Linked DNA regions of Homo sapiens: regions 1, 2 and 3 are each linked to region 4. The links are contacts of gene promoters, found by promoter capture Hi-C in human tissues and cell types (Jung and others, 2019). All regions are on one chromosome and are shown on one strand. The core of a region is centred on a gene start or on the middle of the fragment in contact, and the rest is flanking DNA. Distances in the headings are between cores, read along the strand shown. Region 1 overlaps ACSS3 (acyl-CoA synthetase short chain family member 3). Region 2 overlaps PTPRQ (protein tyrosine phosphatase receptor type Q). Region 3 overlaps PTPRQ (protein tyrosine phosphatase receptor type Q). Region 4 holds the start of LIN7A (lin-7 cell polarity scaffold A).

Region 1 (2,841 bases), core at 274-2,773, 320 kb before region 4:
GTTGCAGTGAGCGATGGTGCCACTGCACTCAAGCTTGGGTGACAGAGCATGACTCCGTCTTAAAATAAATCAATAAATAAATAGTAGAAACTGTGAAAAATTCAAACCTTTATTACATTGTTTCTTATCAATCTGATTTACACTTGCTAAAAACAAATATAAATTTTAAGTATTTAAGACATATAGGAACAAAATAAAATTACTTTAAGAATGGAGAATAGGACCAGCACAAAACCTTCCTATGTAACCATAAATACCAAGCATTTGATTTTAAGGAAATACCAATTAATGAAAGCTACTTTAAAATCCATATAAAAATGAGGTTTTATTGAAAAACAGTCTTAATAGTAAAACTGTGGTTTCTTAGATTTATAAATGTCAAATGTTCATAATTTTTTTTCAACCTAAAACTATGCTTTACCAAAATATTTAACCACTTTCGATGAATCAATATTTTAGAAAAATACTTTTTAAGAGCGATATTTAGAACAAAATGTGTGCACAGGGTTAAGAGAAAACAGTTATAGACAGAGGAACAACTCACCTTGTGCTGTTTTCATTGCCTTGAACTAAAAGTGCCACACAATTTATTGTTGGTCTTTTGGGCTTAGGATGGGAGCAGATATGCTGCCTTATTTGGATCACTATTTGAAGCTGATAAAATGAAAAGCATCCCGATAAGAGATTTAATTTCAGAATGTACAACCCTTACATTAAAATTTTAATTATGGTATATAATTTGGCACCTAATTAGACATGATTTAAAGTATATAATAATTTGGCTAAATAAGAGGTCTCCCAAAATACTGTTTATATTAGATTCTACACATAGCATTATAATTTCTTCAGGAAATGAACACTTCACTAATTTACAAATGACTATTTAATATGTTCAATAGTGCTTGCTTCTTAGCTCTTAAGTGATGGGTAGAGTTACTCTATTTGCAATCTGTTTTTTGTGCATGACATTCTAGTTCATATTTCCTAGTTTTTACCATTAATTGGGATAACAGTATTCATTTACAATAATTCAATCTAGGACAACCATTTTTTGTTTGGGTGAAACAACAACACTTTTGATATTAAAATAATCCAGAGCATACTACTTGCTGTTTCTTTTGTGTCAGTAATAGCAATTGTGAGCTTTTTCTAAGTACATTATGGCTGAAAACAATCAGCAATGCCATACTACTGACACAAACGTTTACAATAGGTGACTTATTATCGTTATGTTTTTGTAACAAATAAAGGTATTTTTTAAGAACTCTAAAATATATGAACTAGAATATAAATCTACATTATGAAATAGGTCAATTCAACCCAATTTATTAATTAGCAAGTTGTAAATTTTTCAGAAGGCATGCTAACATTTTGCATAACTACCTTTGTTTACATTACTGCCATACTTTCCACAAAGTTGAGCAAATTCTATTATTTGTTAAGCTCCCCTGCACCAAATTGGAGAAAAGCAAATGTTAATTACATACGGCTGTTGGCTACATCCTAGATGATTTCCTTCTCATGATCTTCTAGGACAGGAGTAAGCAGGCTGCGTGGAGGTACACCACAGAGGAGTAGAATGAGATTTCCCAGTCTGGGACTTTTCAGTGAACTAATGCTATCCATTGTATATTTTAGATGGCGTCTTTTCAGTCTACTCTACCTAAAGTGCACTACCATCTAAGAAGACGAGCAGTGAAAACCTTTGTGAAAACTGAATTCTAAGGAAATAATGACGTCATGACTTATTAAAAGCTGAAAAATGTGATTTTTGGGGGGAGTCAGATATTACATTTGATTAGTTTACTACAAATTGTAATAAAATGCTTAAGTCATTTGAATAATAAACATCATCTACATCATAAACTCTGTACAACAGATGCTTTTATGAAATGAAGCCAGTTGTTTTTCATGTTTTATTGTAATATACTAGGCATTTATGTATTACCGTGCATTTCTTTTTAAATGTGTAAGTCTTATGTAAATGGATATAAATATGATTTTTTAAAAAATAAAATATATGGTTCATGGAGTCTCGAGTGCAAACATTTGACAATTCCAAGTACTGTTTGTATTTTACCATTCCACCATTTTTACAGTTTTTGGATTGTTAATAGTCAAATCAATATGTTTCCTTGAAGCATGTTTCATGCTTCAACGTGTTTCTCCTTCAAGTCTGTCAATACTTAAAGCTGAACAACCTGCCTCTGATCATGTAAAAAAGAATGATTTAACCTGGAACCGGAGCCAAAAATAGAGCTTTAAAGGCAATCAGGGATGTCCTATATCTTTAGAAATAGCACTGTGATGGCTTGATCTCCTTTTCAATACAAAACAAAGCCAAGCTGTTTACAAGGGTCAAAAGCAATTATTTAAAAATTTATATTAAAAAACCATAATCTTCTCTTGTTACCTGTGGACCAAGAAAAAAAAAAAGATAAAAAAACTTCTTTACTAAGAACCACATGTTCATTCAAATATCTTGAAATGCCAGCCAGTACTGGACAGTGAATGTCAACCACCGCAGAGTCTGAGGCTCATTTCCACTAGAGAAAACGAAACCCAAGATACCTTTCCCTTTTGTCAATGTAACAGGGCATTAGCCAGACTCATGTCTAATGTTATAAGCTTTTAGCCGAGATGGCCTTGTTGCGACTTCCCTGAAGTCAGTTTTATCAGAGGAAATAAATGAAAGACAGAATGATTAACATATATAGTGTATAAAAGTATAGAAGAGTAATCTCTTCCCTGTGGCTTTATTTGGTGGTGTTACTGTTGTTTATTCTTTGTTTATATGGGAGATTCAAAGTAAAGCCTATTTAATAATACCATTTATCTAAC
Region 2 (2,906 bases), core at 113-2,612, 450 kb after region 4:
ATTGTGCAAGGCCAAAGAATTGCAATGTCACAGTACATAAAATTGCAGAAAGTATTAAGGAACAAATAGTTTCAAAAGCTGAAAAGTGGGGGGACAGAGGGATGGATTTTGAAGGAGATAAGAACACAAGGGTGGTTAAAAATATTTAATTCTTGTGTTGCACACTGGGGAGGTCACTGGTGACTTCTAATAAGATTTCAAGCATTTAAAGAGTTCTTGAGTTGGGGAATGAGGCTACTTTTTCAGAAGATCAATAGAAATGGGAAGAGAGTCCTCATCCTGAGAGAGGTACCAAGGTCAAAGAAAGGAAAAACAAATGAAGAACACACTAAGCCACAAGTTGTATTTCTTATGTCATTTACTCCCAACCCTGTAAGGTGGCTATATAAGCCCCATTATATAAATGAAGGCACCAAGTCTCCAAAAGTTGATTTTTCTAAGGTCATAGACCTAGAACACGGCAGAGTCAGGCCAAGAACCCAGGGCCATTTGGATTTAAAGCTTCTGTCATATCTGTCTCCCCACATCAATCTCCTGAAAGGTAAACCCAAACACCAGCTACATGGGGAAGCAGAAATATCAGAAATGAGTCTGATCTAATAAAGAAAGATATAATCAGAGAAGTAAAGAGAAGCATAATGTCTCCTTTCATTGAGAGAGTATAAGGGAAGTAATATTGGGTAGCAACTAAGGTGGATGATCCTATGCCAAGATTAATGATCACAATAGGTCACAATTATTTAGCACAGCACTTACTATATGCCAGGTACAGTTCTAAGCTCTTTACACACATGAACCCATTAAATTCTCATTATTAACCCTTTGTTATAGGGACTTATAATCACTATCTTAGAGAAGAAGAAACTGATGTTCAGAGAGCTCAGGCCAACTTTTCCAGGGTTAAACAGTTAGTAATGGCAGAACTAGAGTTTAAACCTGGTTTACAGTCTTAACCACTTGCTATATAGCACAGTGAGAGACAAAATCATAATTTAAATCCAAATTTGTACGTCTCCAAAGCTCATGAGCTCTCTACTATGAGACGAGAATTGCAGACCAGATAGAGACAGAATCACAAAAAAAAAGCCTTTCTAGAACCTCTTAGCTTCATGGAAAAACAGGTGTGGCCACCCATTCAACAGATGTCATTAGCAGAAGTGGGAAACCTGTCATCTAGTACTAGGAAAGCTCAGTATCTAATTTAAGACCTTCTCAGCAGGAGCAAAGGGTTAAGCTTTTGCCCTTTGCCTGAGTTGTCAACCAGAGTATCACAGAAAGCATAATTCAACATCTTTTGCACAGAGGAAAGGAATCAACATAGGATTAAAATTTAACCCTGGGTTGAAGATGGTGAGCAACTTGGAGTGATAAGTCCTGGGTGGCCAGAATGCATTGAGCACATGGTGAGGTCAACTGTCACATACAGGTAAGTGCCAGAAATAGAGGAAGGCTGGGACTAGAAATAGAATGAAAGCATGTGTGGGGGAAAATAACAGCACAGGTAGAAGCAGCAGCAATTCTGAAACAACACAGCAGACGCCAGGTGCTGAATAACTATCGTGTTTGTCTTTAAGGCCCAGTGATTGCTGCACTGGTCCTAAGGAAGTTTATTCTTTGAATGCCCCGGGGAGCAGCCAGTATCTGGACATGACTAGCCTGGAGGCTGAAAGAGTCTCACAGGTGAACAGTTGATGAAGTGAGGTGAACAAAGACAGTGGAAAGAAAAATCAGTGTTGCCTGTACTTCCTAACAGAAACAAAAGGAAAAAAATAAGACTTCCAGTGTGAATAGAAGCAAACACATTGCCTAAAGATCCTGGTCCTCTTATTTAAAATCTATGAAACGACTTAAATTTCTTTTATTTAGTAATGTGACTCTTAATCAAATGTACTTTGAAAAAAAAAAAGAGGCAGCTTTGAGAAATTTAGCTTCCCAAGACCAAATAGAACAGAATCATTTGTCAACAACAGCTACTAAAGTTACTGTGCCTTTCACTGGCAACTGTTCCAAATTGCAAGCACAGCCTTTGAAGGAGCACTTAAATCATAACAAGAGTTTCCGAACAATTCATTAACTAATTTAGAAAAATAATATTAACTTATGAAAATACCTTTAGTCCTGTTTAATTGCACAATTAACATTTTTCATATGATGAAAAGGAATAATAGCACTTAACTAATAATATATAACCTAAAATGAAATATGATCTAGCTAGATTATCAACATGCCCCAAATTTACTTTACTTTGTACTAGTAAGTGGTCAAATATTACATGTGTGGGTGCTAGCAAATCTTCCAAGCTATCAGAGCCAGAACCAAGCAGAAAGGGTTCACCAATAAGTGAAATAAAAATGCAATACCTCATTATTTCCAGTGAGCAAAGTATTTTCCAAAATTATTCCTGTCTCTGGAACTAGCACTTTCACTCGGTATTGGTTAATAATTCCATTTGGTTGTCGTGGTTTCTTCCAAGTAATTCTTACTTGCGTGGATTCTACCTCTGCAAGTTGTAAATCAAACACTGCCCCTGGAACTAAGAAAGAAAGAAAGAAAGAAAAGAAAAGGGGGAAATTAAAAATATTTTTTCAAGTGAAAAAAGTGCCTAAATTCTTAGTTCACAATTTAAGATATATAAACAATTCTATTAGAAAACAGACTAGGCTAGGTGCGGTGGCTCATGGCTGTAATCCCAGCACTTTGGGAGGCCAAGGGAGGCCAATCACCTGAGGTAAGGAGTTCGAGACCAGCCTGACCAACATGGTGAAACCCCATCTCTACTAAAAAATACAAAAATAAGCCAGGCATGGTGGTGCGTGCCTGTAATCCCAGCTACTCAGGAGGCTGAGGCAGGAGAATTGCTTGAACCCAAGAGGCGGAGGTTACAGTGAGTGGAGATTGCACCACTG
Region 3 (2,949 bases), core at 358-2,857, 300 kb after region 4:
TCAACATCTGAATGTTTAAAAAGTCAGCTGTCATATCCAAGAAAACACATTTCCCTGCAATTTAGTGATAACATTGAATAACCTTCATTTTGTAGCATTTGGAAGGACTTTGCTTATCAGATGACACTTCCCTCTATAGCACATATTAGGTATTTTTAGATATGCTGGAAATATACTTGCAAAGTCCATCTATTAGATAAAGACCAACTTTAACAAGTGACAACTACAAATGAATAACTTTTTGAGTCCAAGACATTTGATGCCATATTTTCAAAATTAATAATAATTTTTTTAATTTTAACAGAGCTGAGCAAATACTTGGTAACAACTACTTTGTGCTTATAAGCATTACATGTTATTGAATCTTATAAAAATGCAAACGTTAAAATAGCCTGATGGTAGTTTTCATTAAGAATTTGATGAATTATCTTAATAGACAAGTTTTTATAATGTGCCAACATTTTGAATAATTGATAATGCTTTTAAAAGGATTTATAATTATTTTTTCTTTAAAATTATGTACTTTACTATTTCCAATAGGTACCAATGAAACATATTTAGTACACATGTTTTTACTTTTCCCTCTGAAGGTAACTTTTTACTTTATATTTAATTTTTAAATACAAAGAAATGTAAAAATGATATCATATACAACTTAGACTTTTATGTACTTTTATACTGAAATAGTTATTAAAAAGCTTTTATAAAAATGGATATAAATAATATCAAGTAGTTATAAATTTAATTAATTTAAACCTGTGATTGAAAATGTGGACACTTCCAGAAAAGTTTAATGTAAAAATCTATCATATGAAATGAATTATTAAACATAATGTCAAAGGTTTAATGTGGAAAAATATTTGTCCCAGGAAAATAATCCTGATTGAACATTATAGTCCAAAGTTCATATTTAACTCAAAATATTAGGAAGATTAAGTGATTCTCTGAACAGCAGTGAGAAGTGTGTAGAAGACGGAGGTCACTCTTTGAAAGAAGATCTCTGTGACCTGTGTAAATTAGAGCCCCACAAACACTTCCAACAAGCATAGGTCAGAATAGGGTCATGGCTCCAGGCCCTCTGGACCACAGTTCACCCAGAGGAGTGTGCTCACCGCGTTAATCTCTCGTCCTTCAGTTCCAGGTCTGCCACTGTGATGAGCTGATCCAGCTTCAATTTAGTGTCAATAATTTCTGCATCCTGAGGAGAGTATGTGCCACCTTCTTTCTGCTTCTGTCGAATTCTAAAACAAGCGGAGTAAAGTCCAAGAAGGGAGTTTCACACAAAGTATATAAAATTAGGTTTAGTTTTCTTTTTAAGTAAAGACATTTAGTCAAATAATTTCCTTGTTAAAATCACCTCTCTGAATATGTTGCAAATTTATAGCTACTCGACTTCTTTTTCTTGTTTTAATTCCATAGAACCTATTCTACTTTCTTTTTTTTCTAATAAGTTATTGGGATGAAGTTCTAAATTTAAGAAGAATTAGTTGACGAAGGCCTGAGCCATTGGTACATTTAAATATAGAGCCAAGAAGACTTACGTTGTGATCTTGTTTCTCTTCTCTCTAGCTATGTCATTGATTTGTCATATAAAGGAACTATGCCAAAGTGAAAATAGTTCAATGCTATCAATAGTATTGCTAACAGATAATGCCCCATTGTGTTCACATATATGAAATATTTTTACATGCATGAAAATACTTAAAAATTATTTTCAAATTATCTTATTGAATTTTTATAAAAATATTGTGAGTAGATATTATCTTTACAATCAGAAAACTTAGGTTCAAAAATAAAAGCCACATGAATCTGAGAATCAAATCAGATTCTTTTCATCTTAAACCCTTTAAATGCTTATTTCTCCATGACACAGTATGGTATATTACAAAGTAATGTTTAGCTATTCTATCTTTCACATTTCAAATATTTAGTATTTATTAAGAGTTGGACATCAAGGATGATATGGAAAGTATAAAACATGTTCCCTACCCTCAAAGACATTACAATTTAGTTGAGAGGCAAGATTTCAATGCAGAAAAAACATGAAAAGAGAAAAAAAGATTCAAATTACAACACATAAGACAGTGCCTGATTAGTTACATAAATAGTTATTATTATTTAGAGGAGGTAAAGAAGTAGAATTTGACTTGGATGTCCCAGGATGAGAAGGAGGAGGAAGCACATTTCAGGGTGACTGAACAAAAGCAGAATGTATAAAAGCCCAAGGAATGTTCAGGTGAGAATAGATCTCTTTAGCTAGTGAGTAGGCAAGTTGTGGGGAATAAGGAGGACCATTTCCTACTCACACAAGGAGTTCATCTTGTAGAGAAATGAGAAGTCAGAAAAGATTTTAGAGCAGGGAAATTACATAAATGTGGCCAGTCCATACTCCTTAGGGAAAGGCCCATATTTTACACATTATAGCATTCAAAGTGCCTCGAATGATAACTCTCTCACTGTCTTCTGGCTAAATCTGCAAATAGTTATGTGGTATAGAGAAAATATCTTTTTCAAGAGCCTTTCAAATTATCTATTAAAATTATGCTTTAAGAGAGTCAAGATGAACCATAATGCATGGCATTTAGAATACAGAACTACATTCTTCAGTTGAAATAAAAATAGTCTATTGAACTATTTAGGAAATTGGTAGAAAGTTTACTTTACAAATGTAAGGTCCCTTTAACTCGGCAATCTGCCTTAAGAAGCTAGATTTTGAGGTCAGAAGTAAGATTTCCAACGAGGCCCTGTAAATAATAAGGGAAGTAGGATGCTGATGCTGAGAATGGAAAGATACACTTGGAAAATTCAGCACAGACATGTTCAGAAAGTAAGCATGAGAAGGGGGTCTACCATATAAGGAAGCTGGATATTTTACAAGTGTTGTTCTAACTATAAAAAAGATCTCTTTCTGTATAAACTTTAATATTTAGACCTGATTGAGATATTTTA
Region 4 (3,154 bases), core at 558-3,057:
GCACTTCCTTTTAATAGTGCTTAGAGTACTGCACAGAAGCTTATGGTTTGCTCACTGTCTCCCAAGCAAGACTGGGCAGAAAGGGGGCCATCTCATTAATCTTTGCATGGTTAGCACCTAGCACAGAGCTTACCACACGGTTCCAGGGGATGTATGCTTGTATAAATAAATTTGTATATTCTTTACTGTTTTCAAAGCACAGTCACATGTATGACTCCATTAGACCCTCATAAAACTCTGTGAGATTGCAAGGTAGAATTAGTTTCCTCATATGACAGATCTCTGTGACATTGAATGATATTATTTCCATTGTATGACAGAGGAGGAAACAGGATCAGTGAGAGATTGTGTGACTTCCGAAGAGTACATGACTAAGACTCAAATGTCAAGATCAGCATTCTTTCTTAAATACTAAATAAAAATAAACATATCGAACTACTATTTTAGGTTTGTTCTTAGGGTCTGTTAAGTCTATATATGGCCAATCATCTTTGGCTTTCCCACATTGGTGAAATGTTGTTTTTTAAAATTCAATTGTAGACTATAAAATGAAAAAGACCTTCAGAAATCCTATCTGTAATCAGAAGAAAATGGCATCAATTATATGCAAATATTTTGCTATAAAACAGTATCTGCCTTTTAGAGTTTATTGTTAGCCCAAACAATTCAGCTCTGTCACAGGAAACAAGATGGAGGCAGCTTTGTCATTTCCAATCCTGCACCCACAGTCACCCCTATTCAGCTTATAGAAGGTTTCTTTATGTTTCTTGATTTCGTAGTCAGGAAATGAATCCCTACTATGACAAGATAGTGAAAGTAGCCTTTTTATTGGGGCGAAGAGGTCACAGCCAGTATTTGAAGGCTCTCGTAATTTAATCCTGATCAACTGACTCTAAAGTCAGGTTTTTAATAACACCATCTCCCACTAGATTACAGGCTACAGGAAGTCGGAGACTAAATTGAACTCCTAAATCAAGGCGTGGCACAAGGCAATGTAACTCTTCTATCTCAATTCCTGGCATATATGTTAATCAATCGATAAGTGGCATCTCTGAACCACTGGTTAGAAATCAACATGAAAAGTGCTAGGTACATATTTTTCAAACGTAGTCATAGACAACCAAAATCAGTTTGGACATTAAGAGCAAAGTTTTTGTTGCTGGGTGGGTGAGGGGGAGTGGGGCATGTTTACAGGATGTGGTATGTAAAAAATTCGGAGAAAATCTGAACACTGTACTTGTTTCTAAGCTACATTTACTGAATTGGTAATGTATTAACAGTGGCTTGAAAAAGAAAAACTTAGCGATAGAAACTTACCTACACGTTTTTTATTTTGAAGCACTTTTAAGAGGTTTGCCTTTTTTTTTTTTTTTCTCCAGGCAATATACTCAGGTCCTAAATGAACATCTACTGATGGAACGCTGGCCTTTAGTCAGTTATCTTTATATGCCGTTATAGGTCAACATTCCGAAAAACTTCAACAGAAATTAACTGCAAATGTAATTACATCCCAAACATTTCTGATAATGGAAGCATTTTCTCTCTAAAGGGGATGGGATTATTGGATTGGCAATTTCTCTTAATCTGAGAAAACTCATCTCCCACTCCCTTCCCCATATCCCCTTTCCATCCTCTCTCTTCCCCTTATACACACACGCACCCGCATGCACACACGTATATTCTGACCATTTTATTAGAGTGGAAAGTTGAAAGGAAGCAACCCGCCAGCTACACCCACCCAGCGCTCCTGGGGGTGGAATAGCAAAGTTCTAGGGCAGAGCCTTCCCTCCCAGAGCCCGGCGATGCAGTCGCTCTCGGATACCTGCTCAGCTCCGCACCGCAACTGAAGATCTGCCGCCGCGGAACAGTTGCGTCTCCATCTGGCTACCAACCCACCCAAGCTTTCTTCTCCACCACCACCACCTTCCTTCCTTCCCCCTCCTCCCCCTCCTTTCCGTCTTCCCTCTCCACCCCCGCCCCCAATCTCCTCCTTTTTTTCTCACTACGAGCGGTTGCTGATGCTGAAGCCGAGCGTCACTTCGGCTCCCACGGCAGACATGGCGACATTGACAGTGGTCCAGCCGCTCACCCTGGACAGAGGTAAGGGAGCGGCTCGCTCGCCAGGCCACCGCGTCCCCTCTCCCCTCCTCCCTTCCCCGCCTGCCAATTCCCAACGGGACATGGGACGCGCTCAGGCAGGAGGAGAAGGGGAACGAGGACGAGCCAGGAAGGCGTTCGCGCCGAGAACAGAACACTTTCTTCCCCTTTCTCTCCCCGCTACGTTCCCGCTGCCCCTTCCCACTGTACTCGCCCCGCCGAGGGGACGCCTCCTTCTGGCTCTGGGGTCCCCGCTGCCACTCCCAGCCCCTCGCCGGGTCGTCTCCGGTCCTCTGGCTTTGTTGGAGCCGCTGCGCGGGGACGGCTATAGGCGCCAGGGGCTCGGGGTTGGAGAGGGGCAGAGAGCAAGCTCGCCCGGCCAGAGCCCAGAGGAGACCGGCGAGGGAGCCGCCTGTCAGCTTGCTTGGCGCAGGGGCCCGGGAGGAAGGAAGTTTGTCCAGGCGCCGGAGGGCGAGGGTCGGTCCAACTGCTGGAGTCCCGGCGGCCACTCGGGGGGCGGGCTGGGCGCACCCCTGGGCTGCCGGGCGCACAGTGGCGGGGCTGCAGCAGGCAGGGAGCTGCCCTCTGCCGAAAGGGCAAGGCAGAGCGCGGGGAGCCGAGCCCCAGCAGCCGAGATCGGCTCTCCGCGGCTTCGAGATCGAAAGCGGCGAGGGTCGCGTCTGCTCCCGCCGCCGGCAGCTCCCGGTCGATAGCAACTCTCGGCTTCTCCCGCGCCAGCCTCTCGTGTCCTCTCCCAGCTCGGTGCCACCGCGGCGCCCAGGCTGCGGAAGGCGCGGGGACAAAGCGCAGGTCGGGTTAAAATTCAACTTCTGACCTGCCACCCAGTGAGTCCTGCTCTCTGACTTGAACGGGGAAAGTGTTCGCTTCCTCCCCAGGACGCCCTCACAAGCTCAGGGATGGAGTCCTCCGCTGCGATCGGGGCCTCACTGGTGCACCCCTGTGGGGTTATACCTGTCCCTGAGTGTGTGGGTTTCCTTCCTGGCTCCAGCGTCCAGTGATGAAGGCGCTCGAGTCCTACGGCTCTGCAGAGGAGGAC

Evidence for each region. The method cuts DNA at HindIII sites, captures the fragments that hold promoters and counts their contacts. A contact is called where the count stands out against the background at its distance.
Region 1: a contact is called between a fragment that was not itself captured here and the fragment with the promoter of LIN7A in region 4, in 2 of the 25 tissues and cell types used here (dorsolateral prefrontal cortex and hippocampus).
Region 2: a fragment that was not itself captured here is called in contact with the fragment with the promoter of LIN7A in region 4 in 1 of the 25 tissues and cell types used here (lymphoblastoid cells).
Region 3: a fragment that was not itself captured here is called in contact with the fragment with the promoter of LIN7A in region 4 in 1 of the 25 tissues and cell types used here (lymphoblastoid cells).

The regions. Positions count from the first base shown.
Region 1 is chr12:81,258,458-81,261,298 of GRCh38, reverse strand. ACSS3 (acyl-CoA synthetase short chain family member 3) reads right to left here. Exons shown (of 16, transcript NM_024560.4): 16 at 89-2,841. PPFIA2 (PPFI scaffold protein A2) reads left to right here. Exons shown (of 33, transcript NM_003625.5): 33 at 1,639-2,841. Among named protein-coding and RNA genes, the nearest start is that of PPFIA2-AS1, 19 kb to the left of the region's middle. The HindIII fragment of the contact is 4,905 bases long and covers 1-2,841 here.
Region 2 is chr12:80,484,060-80,486,965 of GRCh38, reverse strand. PTPRQ (protein tyrosine phosphatase receptor type Q) reads right to left here. Exons shown (of 45, transcript NM_001145026.2): 9 at 2,361-2,533. Among named protein-coding and RNA genes, the nearest start is that of PTPRQ, 41 kb to the right of the region's middle. The HindIII fragment of the contact is 4,311 bases long and covers 1-2,906 here.
Region 3 is chr12:80,633,237-80,636,185 of GRCh38, reverse strand. It overlaps PTPRQ (protein tyrosine phosphatase receptor type Q), which reads right to left. Exons shown (of 45, transcript NM_001145026.2): 35 at 1,113-1,241. All of the region lies in intron 1 of LOC105369867 (a long non-coding RNA gene), which reads left to right. Among named protein-coding and RNA genes, the nearest start is that of MYF6, 73 kb to the left of the region's middle. RefSeq lists an enhancer at 2,945-2,949. The HindIII fragment of the contact is 5,580 bases long and covers 1-2,949 here.
Region 4 is chr12:80,936,587-80,939,740 of GRCh38, reverse strand. It overlaps LIN7A (lin-7 cell polarity scaffold A), which reads left to right and starts at 1,807. Exons shown (of 6, transcript NM_004664.4): 1 at 1,807-2,100. The coding sequence starts at 2,019. RefSeq lists a silencer at 2,470-2,679. The HindIII fragment of the contact is 2,607 bases long and covers 971-3,154 here.